4 separate regions of the Homo sapiens genome follow, and all the other regions are linked to region 3. Evidence: promoter capture Hi-C in 16 types of primary human blood cells and fetal thymus (Javierre and others, 2016). All regions are on one chromosome and are shown on one strand. Each heading gives the region's core, a stretch centred on a gene start or on the middle of the fragment in contact. The rest is flanking DNA. Distances are from core to core; before and after follow the strand shown. Region 1 holds the start of TAAR6 (trace amine associated receptor 6). Region 2 holds the start of ALDH8A1 (aldehyde dehydrogenase 8 family member A1). Region 3 holds the start of TCF21 (transcription factor 21). Region 4 has its middle 39 kb from the start of ALDH8A1.

What was found. Contacts are between HindIII fragments. The CHiCAGO score rates a contact against its expected background, and 5 or more counts as called.
Region 1: the fragment with the promoter of TAAR6 here is called in contact with the fragment with the promoter of TCF21 in region 3 in 4 of 17 cell types (total CD4 T cells, total CD8 T cells, naive CD8 T cells and 1 more); the score reaches 7.0 in total CD4 T cells.
Region 2: the fragment with the promoter of ALDH8A1 here is called in contact with the fragment with the promoter of TCF21 in region 3 in 6 of 17 cell types (naive B cells, monocytes, neutrophils and 3 more); the score reaches 11.3 in naive B cells.
Region 4: a contact is called between a fragment that was not itself captured here and the fragment with the promoter of TCF21 in region 3, in 1 of 17 cell types (monocytes). The highest score is 5.4, in monocytes.

Annotation. Positions count from the first base shown.
Region 1 is chr6:132,569,036-132,571,735 of GRCh38, forward strand. TAAR6 (trace amine associated receptor 6) reads left to right here and starts at 1,287. Exons shown (of 1, transcript NM_175067.1): 1 at 1,287-2,324. The coding sequence starts at 1,287. The coding sequence ends at 2,324. The HindIII fragment of the contact is 3,206 bases long and covers 1-2,678 here.
Region 2 is chr6:134,948,448-134,951,511 of GRCh38, forward strand. It overlaps ALDH8A1 (aldehyde dehydrogenase 8 family member A1), which reads right to left and starts at 1,654. Exons shown (of 7, transcript NM_022568.4): 1 at 1,469-1,654. The coding sequence starts at 1,606. The HindIII fragment of the contact is 9,755 bases long and covers 1-3,064 here.
Region 3 is chr6:133,887,831-133,890,556 of GRCh38, forward strand. TCF21 (transcription factor 21) reads left to right here and starts at 1,283. Exons shown (of 2, transcript NM_003206.4): 1 at 1,283-2,017. The coding sequence starts at 1,568. It overlaps TARID (TCF21 antisense RNA inducing promoter demethylation), which reads right to left and starts at 1,176. Exons shown (of 9, transcript NR_109982.1): 1 at 774-1,176. RefSeq lists an enhancer at 831-1,744. The HindIII fragment of the contact is 7,636 bases long and covers 1-2,726 here.
Region 4 is chr6:134,909,924-134,912,766 of GRCh38, forward strand. No RefSeq gene overlaps it. Among named protein-coding and RNA genes, the nearest start is that of ALDH8A1, 39 kb to the right of the region's middle. The HindIII fragment of the contact is 3,763 bases long and covers 1-2,843 here.

The DNA of each region.
Region 1 (2,700 bases), core at 37-2,536, 1.3 Mb before region 3:
AATAATAATACTTATCACTCTTTATAACTTGAAAAGCAAGTTCACAAATGTCTCTAAAGTCACAGCCCTGTACTGGAAAGAGAGTTGAACCCTTCTTCAGGAAGACAATAATATAATAATAACAATATTTTCTTCACTCTGCAGTGTCTTTACATTCCAGGGTTGGGAACATTACTGAGGATTCTCTTCCCATTTTCCAGTTTCCTGTTCATTATTCTTATTTTTTTGACTGCTTTTAGCATCGGGAGCACAAAGGCCAGTCACCAGGAATTGCAAACAAATGCGTAGTCAGAGAGAGAGGGCTCACTGCCCATTTGTCATGTGGATGCAGACACATTGCAGATGTGTTCCCAGTAACAATGTCTTGAGAAGAGGACTGGTCTTTCCACCAGCATCTCAGAAATGCCGGTGTGTCTAAACAGCATGTCGTTCTTTAATGCTTTCATGCAATATATTTTATCAATCTCAAGTTCCCCTCACTATGTATTATAATAATTTCTGCTTGTTGGTAACCAATGCAGATGGAAAATTGATTCTTAACAGAAGAGAAAGAGCCAAGTATTGATGCTTACTATTTACACCCTATTGTATCTTTGTAACAAAAACCCGGGTGGCTAAGTTATGATTGGGAACAAGGGAATGGTTCAAGTCTATGCACTAAGGAAAAACAAATCTTTGGCCTAAAACAATAATGATAATAGAATTTAATATAGAGTAGAGACCTGTTTTGTAGAATAACTTTCCTAGTAATCACTGTTGAAAATAATCATACTAGTTCACACCGCGCACTACAGGGATTCCATCGAGGGATTTTCCCATTGAAGGCATTTATTTAGCTAAAAGGACTTCATCTTTAAGGCGGTAATGCAGGACAGATAACAGAGATAAAGATAACAGGAGGTGATCTTTCAGCTCCATAATTACATTCCATATCAGCGACTGTTGCACAGAGAAACTCAAAAGGTAAAAATAAAATATGAAAGGATATTTAAAATCAAAAGGAATTTTATCAAATTAAGAGCATGAGACATTTATCAGTTGAAACAATCTCCAATAATCTTGTGCAATATAATTTTTGTCAAATTTTATTTTGTCATAAACATTTGGGATTTATAATAAAAATGGAAACTTGAAAAATTATATTAGAGATAATATCTGATCATTTCCTCTGGCATCCTGGTGAATATGTGTTTTTTTCCGCAGGAGCACTGAAAATCAGGAACAATCCTGTATTTTTTGTGATAATCAACAAGGACAAAACTTCTCCATATGTAAATAACAGCGTTATGAGCAGCAATTCATCCCTGCTGGTGGCTGTGCAGCTGTGCTACGCGAACGTGAATGGGTCCTGTGTGAAAATCCCCTTCTCGCCGGGATCCCGGGTGATTCTGTACATAGTGTTTGGCTTTGGGGCTGTGCTGGCTGTGTTTGGAAACCTCCTGGTGATGATTTCAATCCTCCATTTCAAGCAGCTGCACTCTCCGACCAATTTTCTCGTTGCCTCTCTGGCCTGCGCTGATTTCTTGGTGGGTGTGACTGTGATGCCCTTCAGCATGGTCAGGACGGTGGAGAGCTGCTGGTATTTTGGGAGGAGTTTTTGTACTTTCCACACCTGCTGTGATGTGGCATTTTGTTACTCTTCTCTCTTTCACTTGTGCTTCATCTCCATCGACAGGTACATTGCGGTTACTGACCCCCTGGTCTATCCTACCAAGTTCACCGTATCTGTGTCAGGAATTTGCATCAGCGTGTCCTGGATCCTGCCCCTCATGTACAGCGGTGCTGTGTTCTACACAGGTGTCTATGACGATGGGCTGGAGGAATTATCTGATGCCCTAAACTGTATAGGAGGTTGTCAGACCGTTGTAAATCAAAACTGGGTGTTGACAGATTTTCTATCCTTCTTTATACCTACCTTTATTATGATAATTCTGTATGGTAACATATTTCTTGTGGCTAGACGACAGGCGAAAAAGATAGAAAATACTGGTAGCAAGACAGAATCATCCTCAGAGAGTTACAAAGCCAGAGTGGCCAGGAGAGAGAGAAAAGCAGCTAAAACCCTGGGGGTCACAGTGGTAGCATTTATGATTTCATGGTTACCATATAGCATTGATTCATTAATTGATGCCTTTATGGGCTTTATAACCCCTGCCTGTATTTATGAGATTTGCTGTTGGTGTGCTTATTATAACTCAGCCATGAATCCTTTGATTTATGCTTTATTTTACCCATGGTTTAGGAAAGCAATAAAAGTTATTGTAACTGGTCAGGTTTTAAAGAACAGTTCAGCAACCATGAATTTGTTTTCTGAACATATATAAGCAGTTGTATAGACGAAGTTCAGGATACCTTTAAAATTACCAAGCGAAATGAGTTTTTAAAAATCAAGTAAGACTATGAATGAATAGCAAATAAATTGCTCTTCAAATGAAAAACAAATCAATGTTTTTCAGTCTTGTTAAGATGTGCACTTTCCTGTCCCTTCTGCAAAAGTATTTACTTGGCTAACAAATGTTAAATTCCTATTTGTTAACTGCTTTAGAGCTCAGCATATCCCACTCCCTGCAGACACTTTTTGTCTTTTAATCCATTGACTCTTCCCTCTGCTCTGGTATTTTTCCTAAAAATATTTGTTTTTTTTTTTTTATTTATTCCCTTTCCTCTTTTCTTTACAAAGCTTTCTACTCTTTCCCAGCC
Region 2 (3,064 bases), core at 404-2,903, 1.1 Mb after region 3:
CATGACACATTGTATGCATGTATCAAAATGTCACATATGCCCATAAAGATGTACAATTATTATGTATCAATTTTTTAATTTTTTGTTAAAAAAGGGCTTAATGACTGCAAAGCACAAAGCAAAAGTTGAATAAACGGGAGCCACTGTTAGCAGCACCAGCAACATTTTCCTGAGTGATGTTTTGGAAATTGGACATGCAGTTTGTATGGTAACCATATTTTTCAAGCCGGAAAAAACTATGACTTATGGGATCAGATAGGATATTTGGAAGTTGGATTGCTGAGAAACTGAACATATCTATTACTCTACTAGCTAGCGCATCCATAGCTCATTCTATTTTCTAAAAAGTTATGAGCCATTAGCTGCAGGAAATATTTCAGCTGAATTTGGCATGTTTGTCATTTTTAACTTCACTTTGGCAAACAAGGAAGAGTGGAAAACACAAAGCTGGATTTCCCAGAGCTGTGTTAAGTCATTTGAAGCAAACAAAATTGCAGTTTATAATTTAACCAATGCATTAACCAACATTTGCAAACATTAATCCCTAAGTCTGAAGGTTTACTTTAAATGCAAGACAGATTTGAAGTATTAACAAAAAAGAAAAAAAATAGCAATGTTCTTAAAAAAAAACTTTGCATGGAATATATATTTTTATAGGAAGACTATATTTTAAATAATCTAGTTATTTGTGCCTTAAAAAGAATAAATTATAATTCATAAGGCATTAGATGACTATATATACATCAGCTACATTTACCACTTCAGATATATTTACATTCTCAGTGCAATAATTGATAGCTAATCAAATATATCTCAAATATTTTACAAAATTCTCCAAGTAAAATTAATTCTACATCACCAAAAAAATGTAATGCATATGCCATTAAACACTTTGGATAAGAAAAAAGACGCTGTTAAATCTAACTCCAAAAATATATGGGAATTTGATTTTGAGTTTCATCATTCAAATGATTGATTTTATTTTACTAGGTATTTTGAAGACATGACAAATTATGAGAAGACAATCTAAAACAAAGCCCACAGTTTTTTGCTTGTTTGTTTATTTTAGTAAAGCTATACTTTTTTTTTAATTCCATGGATATAGTGGTAAATTTAAGCAGTGCGTGGTGGAGAAAAGGGAATATTTAACAAAGTGATAGCTCTTACAAATAATACTTTGTACTAGACACTGATTAGGAAATGTTTGAGAATTGCAAAAAAAAACTGCACACAGGGCTGTGTTAGGTTGGCTAGAAAAATGACTTACTTTCTGCATATAGGAAGAGATTTGTTCTAGGTATCATACAGTCCAGTTACAAGGTACATCTTCTGAGAACTAGAATCTTCCTTCTATCATGTTTAACAATCCTACATCTTCCCCCAACTCCCTCTGCTTTTAGAAAACTGTTACCCATAATTGGCCAACATATTAAACACATTTCAGTCTTCTTTAAGTGCATATACTCACCTCGTCTTTTCCACTATTTGGCACTCTGCAATACACTTCCCCTGTTGATGGGTCGTAAGAATCTATATATGAGCTACAAGGTAAAAATTTTCCATCTATGAAGTTTTCCAGCATCAAAAGTGCGTTTGTTCCAGCCATAGCAAGGAAAAATTCTGCCTTTCCTCTTTACGACTGAGCACTCAGGTTGTCCCCACCACTGTCTGGACTCCTGAGTGAGCCTCCCCCTTCCCAGCCCCCATCTTCCCCTTTACCAATCAGTGAATGTGGGAGGGCACCTGACGCTCTCAGAGAGCATTCCAGTCTCCAAACTCAGAACTAAGAGAGTGGCTGAATGTTTCACAGACTTCTAGTACATTACCTGACATGGATAATTGTGTGTAAAAGTAACAGCTACTTACTTATGTGTTCATAGCCCTTTAAATCATCAGAAGGCATCTGTGCATGTGATTTTATTGGGTTCACACCGTAAACTGTTCATTGCTCAAACACTGATTGGATGCCAGGCCCCAAAGCAAGTCCTTTACATGAATTTACTCGTTTATTCCACACAACAATCCTATATGAAGTAACCATTACTTCCTCTCTTTTATAGAAGAAACTGAGCCTTGGAGAGGTTAGACCATTTTTCCAAGGTCACATAGTTAGCAGGGGATGAACTGTAGCCCTTTAATCTCCAAATCATATACTTTTTCCTCAATGCATCACTGCTTACCCTGCAGAGGTAACTGAAGACAGATGCCCTCTTTCCGTGGCTCATCTGTGTTTCTTTACCTTGGCTGCCCTCTCTTGGAAGAGCTGTCTCTCCATCCCAAAACCGGGGCCACAGTGGCTGCTCACATCTTCCTAGATGTGCCATGGAGATAAAGACAAGCCAAAAACATGTGTGACACATATAGCAAGGGCTTCAGATCCCTGATGTAGCTGAGAATTTCTACAAATTGGTAAGAGAAATGAGCACCCCAACAGAAAAGATAAGCAAAGATACAAAAAAGCAATCCATAGGAAAAGGAACACAATTGGCTAATGAATATATTAACAATGTTCAGCCTTGTTGTTAAGCAAGGAATGTGAAATACAGAGGTGGCCTGATTTGCCAATCATACTGGAGAGCATTTTTAAAGATTGAGAACATCTACTCTGTGAGGATGTGGAGAATCATCCCTAGTCCATAGGCGGGAGGGTTCACAGAACACTGCTTGGGGCAATTTGTCAGGGTCTGGTCAATTTCTCTTCTAGGAATCTCTCCTACAGAATTACGTGCTCATGAACAAGTACATAAGTCACAGGACATCCTTTTTTATCATAATTTAAAAATCAAAACAACCTAAAGTCCATCAATTGGAGAATATTAGAGTATAATTGTTATATTCTTAACAGGGAATACTACTTAGACATTAGAAGGATGCATTGTTAAGTGAAAAAATAAAACTAGTGAATAATATATACAGCATAGTTTCTTTGGCTATTTACATGGTTGACAGGAAGCCGTTTTAAACTGCTTGGATATTTTATGGCAAGCCTATATTACTTTTATAATTATGATTTATAGTTATAATTCAGTTGAAGGTTAGGTACCAATATTCTAAAATTCATTGA
Region 3 (2,726 bases), core at 33-2,532:
GCAAACAAGACCCTGCTAGCAAAACAAAACGTTAGAGGTTAGTGAATTCCCAGCTGAGCCTAGGATTAGAGATATGATATCTTAATGTAGGAGAAGCCTTCAGACCCTAAGCCAACCACTCAGAAACCACTCTTACATTTTGCTCCAGCCCCTCAACTTCAATGCCTACCTGCAAGGGAAGAAAACCTGGCAAAGAAATTGTAAGAGAGATTTATGCCTTCAGTCTCCCTGGTTTCATTGCACCAATTTCATCCAATCCCTAGGTTCTGTTTCCCTGTGCTTTTTCTACCTACTTCCCAGGAGACTTTCTTATTCTCTAGGAAAGGTGGTTCGAGCTGGGGTTAAAGATGGAAAAGAACCTTTCTCAAAAGGATAGTCTTGCTTTGTGTTGTGTAATGTCAGCTTCATGTGAGGAACACTGGCACCTAACAGGCTGGAAGAAGACAAAGACAGCAGCATTGAAAGGGACGGTGCATCACAAAAAGTGCCAGGCAAGGTGATGTCTGAGAGCAACAAAGACTCTCAAGGCAATATTAAATGCATTTCTAGAAAAGAAAAAAAAACCGAGGGGAAAGTTTCCATTTATTAGGAAAAGATGATCAACTAACATAATGTTTTCCACACACTCATACTGCCCTCTCATTCCCTACCCACTCCCACTAAGCTGTGTGTGGTTGGGTTTGAGTGTGCAAATCAAGTATGTTTGTGTACACGTAGGCAGTCCTTTGATGTCTTGAAAATGACCAGGTGTAGGTGAAATGTTTTATACTTACTTTTCCATCACCATAAAGATTCTAGGAAGCACTTGTCTTCATTTATCCCGGGGAAGGTGGAAGATCTCGGTAAAGCCTTGGAGTCTTATGAGGTGTTGGCAGGATGCGGTTGATACTCCCTGTATTTTAATTCGTGTTTTCTTGGGAGGAGAGAGGGCATGGAGTGTAGGTGGAAGGCCCAGAAAGAGCCAAACGATCTAGTCGTTTTTCTAAAGTTCTCAGTAACAACCAGTTGTGACGTCTTAAGAGAGAAAGAAGGCCTTTTACAGATGGACAGAACATGCTGCTTCTCGGCCCCGGCCACAGTTGGGAGAAGGTGGCTGGTAAGTACATGATGCAGTTGAGTTGATTTACATTACAAGTTGCAAATCAGGGTCTGTGCATTGAGTTTCCCTCCGGTTGTGAAAGGGGTCTAAGCGCTTTGCTGGGGCCTGGCAGGCCCCTCCCTGGGCTGCAAGGATCCGCCCCTCTATTCCCCAGATAAATTCCTAGTGTCCACCAAATTCCTCAGCGCTCGCTCACCCTCCTCTACGGCCACGACTCTGGGAGTGGGGAAACAGAGAGCCGGTTCCTCTGCTGCAGAAGTCCTCGGGGTTCCTTCTCACAACTCTGCGAAGGGGAAAGGGTTGTGAGACCCAACCAGACCCCAACTCCAGCTCCCAGCAGGAGGTGGCTGCGCCACACTCGGGAGGCCTCTTGGTTTCAGGGTCTCTCTGTCTCTCTCTCACCCTCTTCCTCGCTTTCTCTGTCTCTCTGTCTCTCTCTCTCTCTCTCCCTCGTCCACTCCCCCAAACATGTCCACCGGCTCCCTCAGCGATGTGGAGGACCTTCAAGAGGTGGAGATGTTGGAATGTGACGGGTTGAAAATGGATTCGAACAAGGAATTTGTGACTTCCAACGAGAGCACCGAGGAGAGCTCCAACTGCGAGAATGGGTCTCCCCAGAAGGGCCGCGGCGGCCTGGGCAAGAGGAGGAAGGCGCCCACCAAGAAGAGCCCCCTGAGCGGGGTCAGCCAGGAGGGGAAGCAGGTCCAGCGCAACGCCGCCAACGCGCGAGAGCGGGCCCGCATGCGAGTGCTGAGCAAGGCCTTCTCCAGACTCAAGACCACCCTGCCCTGGGTGCCCCCCGACACCAAGCTCTCCAAGCTGGACACGCTCAGGCTGGCGTCCAGCTACATCGCCCACTTGAGGCAGATCCTGGCTAACGACAAATACGAGAACGGGTACATTCACCCGGTCAACCTGGTGAGTGCTCCCGGGGCTGCAGCTGCAGTCCAGGCGCGCCCGCACTCCCGCCTGCGGTGGGCGCGAGTGCGCGCGGGGCTGGGAGTGGGGGTGTGGGCGCGGCGGTGACTTACACATCTCGACCACCGCGGGCCTAGAGCCTCCAGGGACCGGAGGCGGGCGGTCTAGACACGGCCCTCGCTCTCTGCCCTACCAGCCCCCGGAGCGGGAGTGATTTATGCGAGGGTTTGACGTGGCAGCCCAATTAAAAGTTTGCAAGTGTGTTGAGCTGGCACAGAGGAGGGATCCCCCGCTCCCGCTCCATCGCCATCCTCCCTGGGGTGCAGTGGCTGCTGCGGAACTGAGAACACTGACAAGACGCTGCGAGCGGACAGGCATTTTGTTAATCCTTTTTTCTTCTTTTAGCAGAGAGTGGAACTTGATTTTCCTTTCCTTGTAAATAAAAACACCCAACTCCGTTTCTTTCACAAGCATATTTAGGACCATTGGATAAGGACACATCTATGCCCCCCAAATTGTCCACGTAAGCCCTTAACCGCTTAAATATTCTGTGCTTCTCCTATAAGTGGATTAATATTTTTAAATCCCAGAAGTTCTAGTAATGATCAGCAAAATCAGTAAATCCTCACTAGTATGAGTGTAATAAATACTAAAATAGGTCACTCTCACCCAAGATTTAAGAAATGTTACCTTTTATCTTAAAAAGTAA
Region 4 (2,843 bases), core at 235-2,734, 1.0 Mb after region 3:
CAGAGCTTCGGGCTCTGTGACTACACGTGCCAATTGCCTGCAGGAGCAGGTCCCTGCACAGAGCATAAAATGCTCTCCTGAAGCATCTTTTTAAAGTGCCCACATACCAGGTCCCAAGGACTGCCGCTGGGAAGTAAGCAGCAGGCGCTCATGAATTTCTAATAGAGGAAAAATGATTTTCATGCAACATCCTTGAGAAATCAAAGCATGTGAGAATCATCAAGATAGGTAAAAATTTGAATATCAGCATATTTATCTCTTCAGGGGATTTTTGAACAATTTCTCTGATGTTTCAAGTTCAGCAAAATACATACTTCTGAGGTCCTCTTTGCATTGATTTTAGGTATCTTAGGGGAAATGTATTCTCCCACTAATAATCTACCAGAAAGCAGCTCTGAGCGTTTCTTTCTAGTAACTCCTGGGGTCCTGAGACTTGGGACTTGGACTCAGCGGTCTGCATTCAGGTCGAGTTCAGTCATTGGGATGGAAGTGATACAGTCCCCCTTGGGAGCGATACCAAAGTGCTTACCGAGCACTTGCTTCAAGCTGAGATGACTGAACTCTCCTCCCCTCTCCTGCCCCTTCCTCTGATATCCTAAATAAAGGGAGAGAGTTCACAGCTCCTGGACAGTATTCGCAGAACATGTACTGCACCCTTTCCTCAGGATGTATTTAGTGAATCCTAATCTTGAGAAAGACTGACTCCCTGAACTTTAAGGTTAGAAATAATTAGACAAGAAAATCCCTTCTCTGGATTTCTTGTAACTGTCAAAAATGATGAGTAGTGGAAAAATGGCTTCAGGTCATACTTCTCGCTCTCCCTGAACCTTTGCACTGTATTGTGTATAAAAAGAATATAATGTCCCTGTGTCATGATAGGGTGAATGTTGCTATTTCTGCCTTTTGACTGTTCATTATCATTTGCTATCATAAGCCAAGGGCCTGATAGATAGCTGCAGAAACCTAAATAAATGCAATAATTACTCAGGACTGTTCAACCCACTCATCCTCTCATTCACCTCTCCTGTACTACAGAAAATACCTCCTTTTGTCTTGGCAAACACAATTTGGAAAAATGGTTTAAGCCCTGGCAGCAATAGATAGCTAATTATATTCTATTTTGATTGCCTTAGAGGTTAGCCAGCCAGAAAGCAACATTTCATTTCCATGTTCTGAAGAATTTTAAGGCATCCCAGTTCCATTTTTTCTTTTTCTTTTCTTTATTATTTATGTAGTTCTAAATATACATAAGCATTATCTCTCTGCTTCACATGCAGTGCTCTGAAAATGCATTCCAACACTCTTCCATTCTCCATAGAGTGCAAACTCCTTGAAGGTAGAGATTATTTTTCATATTAGATGTATGCCAGGACTTATTTTATCCCTATAGATTCAAGATCAATGCCATGATCTTGCAATGACAGCATAGAGACTCCACAAAAATCTGCTGCACTGAATGTAATAAAAATCAAAATCACTACAGTAATTGTCCCATGTCTGGAGAAATGACACATTTGTTTACAATAAGGCAGAAACCAAATTATAATTATTTTAGATTTTATTGATTTCTGAGTAGCAACCACACATCCCATAAGTGAGAATATGGAAGCCATGTACCCTGGCTCATCAGACAGTGTAAAATCTGCTAATAGGTGCCTATTGCTTGGCAAGGATTGTGGCCCAACCAGTGGGGAATGGAGCCACAGCCCTCTGACCACCACCCAGACAGGTGTGGCCTGGCCCAGCCCACTGTTCAAGTGAATTGTATTTAGAGAGTTCATTACACGTAACCCCTTGAATAGCCTCTCCAGGGCTCTACTCTCCATCATGTGATTGAGAGACTGTGGTTATAACTCATAGGGTGAATCACAGCATTTCTATAATGTTCTCCAAAGTATGTGCTTGGGCTTCAAAAGAGAAAACAATACTTTGTAGTTGAAAACTTAGGAGGGAGAGTAGGTACTAATAAATCAATCTAACAAGAAAAAAGTCAACTTGGGAGTATGGAGTAATATTTTGTAGGAATTTTAAATCAGGAATTTACTGACTCAAGTGTTTTGGATTAAACTTATTAAAGCAATGAATTCTTCTCTTATAAAATGAAGCCTTCTAGTAGGATGATCAGACCATTTAATGAGGAGAGAACACCCTGGGGCCAGTACTTAATCATGTCATCCACAACCTCTAATTTTTGCTCCTAAAAACTCTGAAGCCATCTTTTTCTCCTTTTTAAAAAAAAATTATTTCTGTGCTAGTTCTAGAATCATGGCAAATGTAAAGTTTTGAATTTGATCCATGCTTGACAAACACAAAGTAGATGAACACGTTTTTTATCTTATTTATGTAGAAGAGGAAAATTTTCCTCTACCCTCTTCAGTTGGGCCTTGTGAATTAAACTGGCAAAAGTCAAATTGACAGGCGAAAAAGGCATACGAATTTTATTTTAAATTTTATGTGCATGGGAGCTCCATAGAAAAGAAGTAAAAACCCAAATAAGTGGCTAGTCTTGGGGCCATAAGTGCCATTTTAACCAAAGGTGAAAGATTGTTGAGAAATGACTAACAAAGAAGAGGGAGTTTGGGTTTTTAGGGCCAGTAAATTGTAGAAAGGTAAAAATCTGGGGGAAAATCCAATGAAGGTAAAAGTTATTTAGTGAGATTTGTTTATGCAGACATCTCGGCACCATCTCCATCTCCAGAAATAAAGGTTACTCTTTCTCTCCTGGTACAAGAGAGAAAACTATCATAAGGGAATGTTATGCCCTCCTTTTAGGCAAACAGGGGGAAAATAGCTTTTCCTGTGTCTGCTTTTTCTCAATTACCCTCAGCTCAAAACAATCAATG